Linked DNA regions of Homo sapiens: region 2 is linked to region 1. The links are contacts of gene promoters, found by promoter capture Hi-C in blood cells and fetal thymus (Javierre and others, 2016). All regions are on one chromosome and are shown on one strand. Each heading gives the region's core, a stretch centred on a gene start or on the middle of the fragment in contact. The rest is flanking DNA. Distances are from core to core; before and after follow the strand shown.

What was found. The method cuts DNA at HindIII sites, captures the fragments that hold promoters and counts their contacts. A CHiCAGO score of 5 or more calls a contact.
Region 2: a contact is called between a fragment that was not itself captured here and the fragment with the promoter of SCAF8 in region 1, in 4 of 17 cell types (total CD4 T cells, neutrophils, naive CD8 T cells and 1 more). The highest score is 8.8, in total CD4 T cells.

Annotation. Positions count from the first base shown.
Region 1 is chr6:154,731,162-154,735,369 of GRCh38, reverse strand. SCAF8 (SR-related CTD associated factor 8) reads right to left here and starts at 1,954. Exons shown (of 20, transcript NM_014892.5): 1 at 1,440-1,954. The coding sequence starts at 1,469. RefSeq lists silencers at 1,182-1,781, 1,932-2,051, 2,082-2,321 and an enhancer at 1,418-1,921. The HindIII fragment of the contact is 14,602 bases long and covers 1-4,152 here.
Region 2 is chr6:154,218,854-154,223,061 of GRCh38, reverse strand. It overlaps IPCEF1 (interaction protein for cytohesin exchange factors 1), which reads left to right. Exons shown (of 12, transcript NM_001130700.2): 7 at 1,734-1,805. It also overlaps a transcript of OPRM1 not described here. Among named protein-coding and RNA genes, the nearest start is that of IPCEF1, 140 kb to the left of the region's middle. The HindIII fragment of the contact is 1,607 bases long and covers 1,652-3,258 here.

The DNA of each region.
Region 1 (4,208 bases), core at 705-3,204:
TCCCAAATACTGTTTTTCTTTTTAAAGAAATTAAAACAAGATAAAACTATGCAACGGCATTTAAAAGTACTGTCCTATTTGGGCCGTCACAGCAAAAAGCCTCGTATTTTAAGAGGTAAATATTAAAGATACTCTTTAACAATCATAGTATCGAATAAAGTATTGGCACTTTAAGAGTTCATAAAATTTATGCTAATTTAGTTACCAGCATAATTACACTTTTTCTTTTTCTTTTTTTTTTTTTTGTAGACAGAGTCTCACTCTGTCACTGGGCTGGATTGCAGTGGCGCAGATCTCGGCTCACTGCAACCTCCGCTTCCCAGGTTCAAGCGATTCTCCTGCCTCAGCCTCCTAAGTAGCTGGGATTACAGGTGCCTGCCACTACGCCCAGCTAATTTTTTGTATTTTTAGTAGAGACAGGGTTTCACCACGTTGGCCAGGCTGGTCTTGAACTCCTGACCTCGTGATTGGCCCGCCTCGGCCTCCCAAAGTGCTGGGATTACAGGCCTGAGCCACTGTTCCCGGCCATAATTACACTTTCCAAGGCGTACGGGTAGGGATACTAATGCTGACTGTGCAGATGTGTACTTGCTATGTTTGATGTTTACATTAAGGCCTATTGAAGTCGGAGTTTAAAAAGAAATTGAATACATCAAAACCTGTCTTCTTCCAGACTAGTAAATTCAACTACACAGTGAAAATGGAATCTGCTTTTTAAAATCTTGTTTGACACGTGAATGAACCAGCGAGAAATGTTTCCCCCATAATCTTCCATCTCTCGATGCACAGATCTCTCCCTACCATTTGTCTTTATGTCGTGATGGATTAGAAGAGGAGCGAGTAAAAATAAAAGATATTGCAGAATAACCTTTGCCTGCCTACCAACCATCCAATTAGCTCAAGTCCCTAGCTGGCAAATTACCTAGTCAACAATGCCTCAATTATAAACACTACGTGTAACGTGACCACAGATCAACACCCCGTAGGTTCATTTCCCCCACCGCCCCCAATCGGTGTTAGCCTCAGTGAGGACCCGGGAAGGTCTGGAGAGTCATGTCCAGCGTCCACTTAAATCCTCAAAGGCCCAGGAAGGAGGTGGGCGGGCCAGGCCTCGGCGGAACTGACCTCGAGGGACCTGTCGGGAGTCTCCGGGTGAGGGCCCAACCGGGTCTTTCCCTCCGAGCTCGCAGCCATTCCATAGGACGCCGGAGACGCCAGAACCTCCCTCCGCCCCAGGGCGGCCCTCCCCCAACCCTCCTCCCGGACCCGGGGGAGGGGCACCCAGAGGAGAAACACCCCTCCCCCACGGGCACTGCTAGGCCACCGCTCACCCCACCCTTAAAAAACCCGCAGGCCCGCGCCCACCCTCCGGGCCCCGGCCTCGACCAGGGGTGGGGGCGGTGCGGGCAGGAGCAGGGGAACCCGGCTGCCATACCAACCTCGCTATTGAAGGTCTTCACGGCCTCCATGTTGTCGCTGCGGAGGCCCCGAGCCCGGCGGCGGAAGAGGCGGCGGCCACTGCACTGGGTGGGGAGAGCGAGACGCGGGCTGCTGCGTGGCCGCGAGGAGGGGGCGCTGGCGGGAGAGCGGGCCGCTGCGACCTCGGGGCGGAGTGGAAGGGCACGCGCTGGCGGGGAAGGGCTCCCTCAGCGGCAGAGCGGCACCGGCATGGCCGCTAGGGCGGGGGGAGCGCCGTTCTAGGGAACAGAGGCGCTGCCGGGGCGGGTCGGCGGCGGGCGGGGGAGGGGCTGGGCCGCGGCGCCTTCTCTTCTCTGCCCCGCTCCGTTTCGGTCCCCCTCCCTCTAGCCCCTTCCCCTACACTCTCCACTCCCTTCTGCCCCTTCCTCCGACGGGCTCCTGTTTCACCTCCCCGCCGCTCGGGCCGCAGGAACCAGCCCCGCTCGGCGAAGACAGAGGAGGAAGCGCTGGCAGCAGCGGCTGCGGCATCCAATATGGCGGACTCGAGTCGGGCCGCGCAGTTCGGGGATCCGCGGCGCCGGCTAGCGCGCCCCCTGGCGACTGGACCGTGCGAGCCCCGGCGGCCGCGCGGAAACCATCGAGCGCGCTGGGGCCAGAGCGTCGCCGCCCGTAGGCCCGGCTGGGCTCCGCTGCCCTCGCCTTGGCTCCGGGGCCGCCCGCGCCTCGCCCCCTCCCCGCGCCCCGCGGACGCGGGAGTGAGCGCTGCGGCATCCGGGGGAACGCCGCGGCGGGTTTGTACAGCAGGAGGAGGCAACTCCAAAGCGCGGCTCTAATAAGAGCCTAAACGTGCCCAAGAAGCGGCAAGTTGAGGAAATGTGCGCGTTTCCCTTGTTTCCCGGTGGATTGGTCCTTTTGCACAAGCGGCAGGGTTTAGTTGCTTTTCACAACTTTACTGGACAGTGCCCTAAACATCCGCAGCCTTCGCCAAGAAAAAGTTCCTGGTCATCTATTTAGTAACTGAACTCAATTGTTTTAACTGCACAGGGAGGGAACATTAGAAACCAAAGCCTTGGATTCGGGTTGGGGCAGGCGGCGAGGGAAACAGGCATGCAGCAGCTCCTTGCAGGAAATGCCCGCTGCATAGGATCCAGGGACTGGAGTGGCACAATGAGCGCATTTGTCTGCAAGGCGGGAAGGGGACCCTAGAATGCACAACACTTGAATAGGTGAAAAGGGAACCCGTCTGTTTCGGAAGATGAATTGTTCTAAAGGAATTTTGCCCTAGGATACTTGGAGTAAAGGTAAATACAGTATTTCTTAGATGGATTAGGAGATGCTGCTAGTAAAAAGCCTTCTCTCTCGTGCAGCGCAAAATAAGGTACCAATTTAAAAATACTTATCGATGTTAAAAGATAGGGATGTATCGTGGAACCCCGAACACTGCTGTCCTCTTGTTGAAAGTCATTTTTCAACAATCATTCCCAAATTCACTCAAAGGGAGAGAGGAACATAAGGGCAGGATCGTACTTTTGGAGAGTTTTGGAATCAAGGTAGTTCCTAAGAGCTGTGCGCAGAGCCCCGTGAAACTGGGAAAGTAAGGCCCTTCTTGAGGTTTCAGAGCCTTCATTCTACTTCATTGGCAGCTTTAGTATAGGGCCTGGCTACTGAGAAGGTAACAGGGATAACTCACCAAGTGCTTTTATATTTACTTTCAAAATCTCAAATTCTGTCACAGATTTCTCCACCGTCTCCCATCTTCAGGCCTAGCCATGATCTTTTACTGACACTTGCAGTAGCCTCCTAACTGGTCCCTTGCTTGTCTTCCTACAGTTCATTTCCAGACAGTAGCCGAGGGATGTTTTTCTTAGATAAATCAGATCAGGTCACTCCCTTACTTAAATCCCTTAAATACTTTCTCATTGCCCATTTGATACCATCATAACTTCTCACCATGGCCTGAAGGCCCAGCCCAGCCTGCCGCAGCTCACACCACCTTCCCTTGCTCCCTGACTCTCCTCCTGCCACACTGGCCTTTCTGTTACTTGACAAGAAGCAGTGTTTTCATAGGTAGGACAATTGTGTCTCTTCACACAGGGTGCTGTTGCTCTTGTCCTTTCCATAGCTGACTCCTCCTCCTTCAATCTTCCTGAAAGAGGTCCCCTAATCACTCCATCTAAAGGAGCATTTACTGTGGCTTGAGAAAGTACTGCACTCAGTTCTGTGCATGCCAGGTTCTCACAATCAGAAGTCACTGCTTTGAGGCCGGGTGTGGTGGCTCTCGCCTGTAATCCGAGCACTTTGGGAGACCGAGGCGGGTGGATCACCTGAGGTTAGGAGTTCGAGACCAGCCTGGCCAACATGGTGAAATCCCGTCTGTACTAAAAATACAAAAAAAGTAGCCAGGCGTGGTGGCACGCCCTTGTAGTCCCAGCTACTCGGGAGGCCGAGGCAGGAGATTCGCTTGAACCCGGGAGGCGGAGGTTGCAGCGTGCCGAGATCGCGTGACTGCACTCCAGCCGGGGCAACAAGAGTGAAGCTCTGTCTCAAAAAGAGAAACAAAAAAGAAAAGAACGGAAAAAAAAGGCGCTGCTTTGGCCTGTGAGGGATTATTTATTAGGTCATACATGAAATGAGTGTTGATGGAATTACTTAGGCCTGAGAAATTAAAATGCAATACAAGCTAAAGGATAAAATCAGTGGTTAACATGCTTCACAATTTGATTTAATAAAGCTTCCGCATTCAGAATGGTAACAGAGGGCATAGTTTGATCAGGGTAAGCAGAGGGGGA
Region 2 (4,208 bases), core at 1,206-3,705, 510 kb after region 1:
GTCTGAGAATTTGAAGCATTATGGGTTGGCACCCTACATAGAAATAGAAGCATTTAACCTCTCATTTTCTGGAATTTCGTTTTGTGGAGCAGATGGATTTTAAAACCCCCACGAAGTCTTGGCATGGACTGTTGTTGATGACTGTGTCTGTGATGGAATAAACCCCCTCCAGGACTGGCAGGGAGGTCAGATGTCAAGCTTCGGTTCTACTAAAGAAAAAACAAGCAGTTAAATAGGACTCACCCGAGTTGCAGATACGCCAGCAAGACCAGCTTTTCTTTCTTAGTTCATGGAGTTGTCAGATGCACACTTGGAATTGAATTTTCTGAGATGTCTTAAGCTTGGAGATTACACTCTGATCTAATTGAAATCCAAAAGATTTGAGCACTGACAGGGACCAAAAAAAATTACCAGCTCATGGTCCTGGTTTTCCTGAGAAGGAAACAGCCCAAAGAGTTTGTGACCTGCTTAGATCTCATGAGCGGGCTGGCTGTAAACCCAGGTATCTATAGACTCTCATTCAAGTGCTCCTCCCATGATAGCAGTCTGCTATATTTTGCGTATGTGTCCATTTTCACCTTTTTCTTATTATTTCTTCTACCTTTGACATCTTTTCCAGTCTTATCAGAAAGGGGCCTTCCTTTTTGTCCTATGTGACTAGTTGCAGCAATTGAGTAGTTTTCTTTTAACAAGGTTAGTAAACTGGTGTTAGCTTTAAGTCTTTGCCTCTGTGGTGTGGTTGCACATGTCCAGTGCTGATTCTTGTGGTTTGAAAAGGATTGGCTATTTACAAAAACCCTGGCCTGTGCCGTGCTGCAGGACTTCCTGCCTAAAGGGTAAAGTGGAAGCCCTTCTCATTTGTTATCTTCAATGTTTTCTGCTTTTCTTTTATATTAAAATCTATTTCATATTTCCCTTTACTAACAAAGGGTGCCTTGAATAAGATTTCTGATGTGTTGCTGCAGAGTGGACGTTCCATACCTGATTATTCTCCTATAAAAATTCTTCTGTATATTTGATTGAAAGTGAAGAAATACCTTGCTTGAAGTAGTTGTTCTGAATATTTTGAAGTGTTATTTCTATCACTTTAAAATTGAATTTATTGTATCTTTATAGCAAAGCAGTTAGCAAGTGAAAGGAAGAGGATATACCTATATGTTTTATTTTTTATTTATTTATTTGTTTTTTGAGACGGAGTCTTCCTCTGTCACCCAGACTGGAGTGCAGTGGCATGATCTCGGCTCACTGCAAGCTCTGCCTCCCAGGTTCATGCCATTCTCCTGCCTCAGCCTCCCGGGTAGCTGGGACTAGAGGTGCCCGCCACCATGCCCGGCTAATTTTTTTGTATATTTAGTAGAGACGGGGTTTCACCATGTTAGCCAGGATGGTCTCGATCTCCTGACCTCGTGATCTGCCCGCCTCGGCCTCCCAAAGTGCTAGGATTACAGGCGTGAGCCACCGTGCCCGGCCATACCTATATGTTTTAAATGGAAACTACTGACCAGCTAAGACTCAGCCCTGTTCTGGACGTTCTGACATAAAAAATTGACTCTTAGTTCTCTATATGAAACAGAGACTAGACAATAGGTATCTAATATTACTAAATTATTTTTTGTAAATTTACAAAGAAAGCAGACAAGTTTACAAAGCTTGTATTTTACTGATTTACTTTCAGACCCATTGTTGACTATAAACACTAATTTTTTATGTGTTTGTGCTTTTCCTCCTTCAAGTGCTTTTAAGATCAGCCATCCACAGATCAAGACCTTTTATTTTGCAGCTGAGAATGTGCAGGAAATGAACGTGTAAGTAGAGGAAACTGGTAAACCCCATCCTTAATGGGAATATACTTAACTTTAGCCTGGTACTGGAATTCTAATCATATGTCCATATCAATTATTATTTTATTTCTGTTACTTTAAGGATTAATTTATTTAGCAGTTACAATGCCTTCGTGCTTTCTTCTCTAGTATTTGGAAACGGTTTGGAGAATTACATGTATCAAAGTGGCTATTTCGGGGAACCACTAAGTTGAAAAAGGAGTGGACAGAAGTCATTAAAAGAACATGTTAAAAGGAGAATCAGCATCACAAGGAGAGAGGCTTGAAAGTATTATGTAACTGATCTTGCAGCTTTCGGAATTCTACATGCAAAATATTGCTATAGCGTTTAATATATGCTGTGTGATTATCGTGATGATTCACGTATTTATCACCTCTCCATGTATTGTCCTGAACATATTGCAAAACGCCTTTGCTCGGAGTACATCAAACTTAAAATTGTAGATCCCTAGCTCCATTTCCAGGGTGGTCTGTGAAAATAAGTGGGCTGTGTGCAGAGTACAACCTGCCCTACACCATTCCTAATGGTTTAGAGTCAGGTGTGATCACAATAGCTGTTATTTATTTATTTATTTATTTTTGAGACAGTCTTGTTCTGTTGCCCAGGCTGGAGTGCAGTGGTGCGATCTCGGCTCACTGCAACCTCTGCATCCTGAGTTCGAATGATTCTCCTGCATCAGCCTCCCAAGTTACAGGCGTGCACCACCATGCCCAGCTAATTTTTTGTGTTTCTTGTGGGTTTCACCATGTTGGCCAGGCTGGTCTCGAACTCCTGACCTCAAGTGATCCACCCACCTCGGCCTCTCAAAGTGCTGGAACTAAGGCGTAAGCCACCGCACCTGGTCAACAATGGCTGTTTGAATCAGGCTGTATTTGAGGTGCTGATTGGAGATATCAGAGGGCATTCTCTTTGATTTAGCCCTATTCTCAGAATTCTTAGTGTCTCTTATTATTTCACATGACCAATTGAAAATATGTTAATGGAACGCCTACCACATGCCCCATTGCAGCAGATGGTGGGCAATGGCAATGAAAAACCCACACATAATTCCTCCATTCACAGAGCTTACGCTTAACCTGTTTTACTTATAATGATTTCCTTACCTATCTGCCCTATGTAGTTCTCATTGCTCTCTTGCTCTAGAAACATGAAGAAAAAAAGCAACTGCCTTTCACCAAACATGTGCATGGACACACACACACACACACACACACACACACACACACACACACACTCCTTACAGGTATCCGCTCAGCTCTGTCCAGCTAGAAGGACTCTCATCTGTCCCCTATCCTCACCTCCCCAGCATCACCCTCCAGATGAGGACAGAATGGCTTTGTACTGTAGAAAGTCGGGAAGCTCTGTGTTAGAAATAACAAGGCAAGGAACGGACAGTTGAGTCTTCCAAACAAAGCTTTGATTTACTTGGACAAAGAGAGAAGTTGTTTCTATCCTTTTTCTAGTTTTAGCTTTTTTTTATCCCCTTGGTTTTCTTAAGCATCTGAGAAAAATAAGAACAGATACACGAATGGAGAGGATGTTAAAATCTCCACATCAAAGATCTTTACTTATTTTTTTTTTATTTGCATCAGTTGCTAAATCCTGTTGGTTAGCAAAGCCCTTGCTGTGTAAGTGGGATGTGGAAGGCACAAGGTCTCGCCCGCTAGCACTTGGAGCCCTGTGATAGTGAGGTCAGTCCGCCGCTGAGCCTCAGTTCATCCCAAATGGTCTTTTCTGGTCTTGAATGGTGGTGAAACAGTGCTGCCCGCCTCTCCCCTGCCCAATACCTCCTGCTGTCCTGGCTTTTCTTTAAAAGTGCCTTGTAGCTCCAGCTTCCATCCTTGGCCCGTCCTTCCCACTCATTCTGTGGCTGATTCCTTGCAAGTAGTTTTCCTCTCTCCAGCAAGAGGTGAGTGAGACAGAGTAGCAGAGAAACAATTGCTTCTCAGTGCTTTGTTTGTTACCTAGTGAATTTCTCCTCCTACACAGTAAGGTGCATTTTTAAACCGATGAAAGTGTGAGACCCTTCCATGTTTATCTGAATCCGTTGTATTTCATGCACGTTTGCTCTGTAAATCCCAGATCCCCCTCCTCACCGCCCCAGTGTTTATTTACATTTCCAGTTTATTTATCTTCCAATTTTATGTTCTCCCTTTGCAGAAACCTATCTAATGGTAAGTAGAGTTGCATGGGTAGATATGATATAAATACTTCATCCTGTTGGCTGTGAAATCAAAGTCTTTCACAGTTATCAACGTCAAGATCTTACCGCCTATCTATGCTATGAAGATCTGTTCATTTTACTTGAAATTCTTTTGGGGGTTATCTTTCCAGCTTACAAAGAAGATGCAAATTGAAATTTGAAC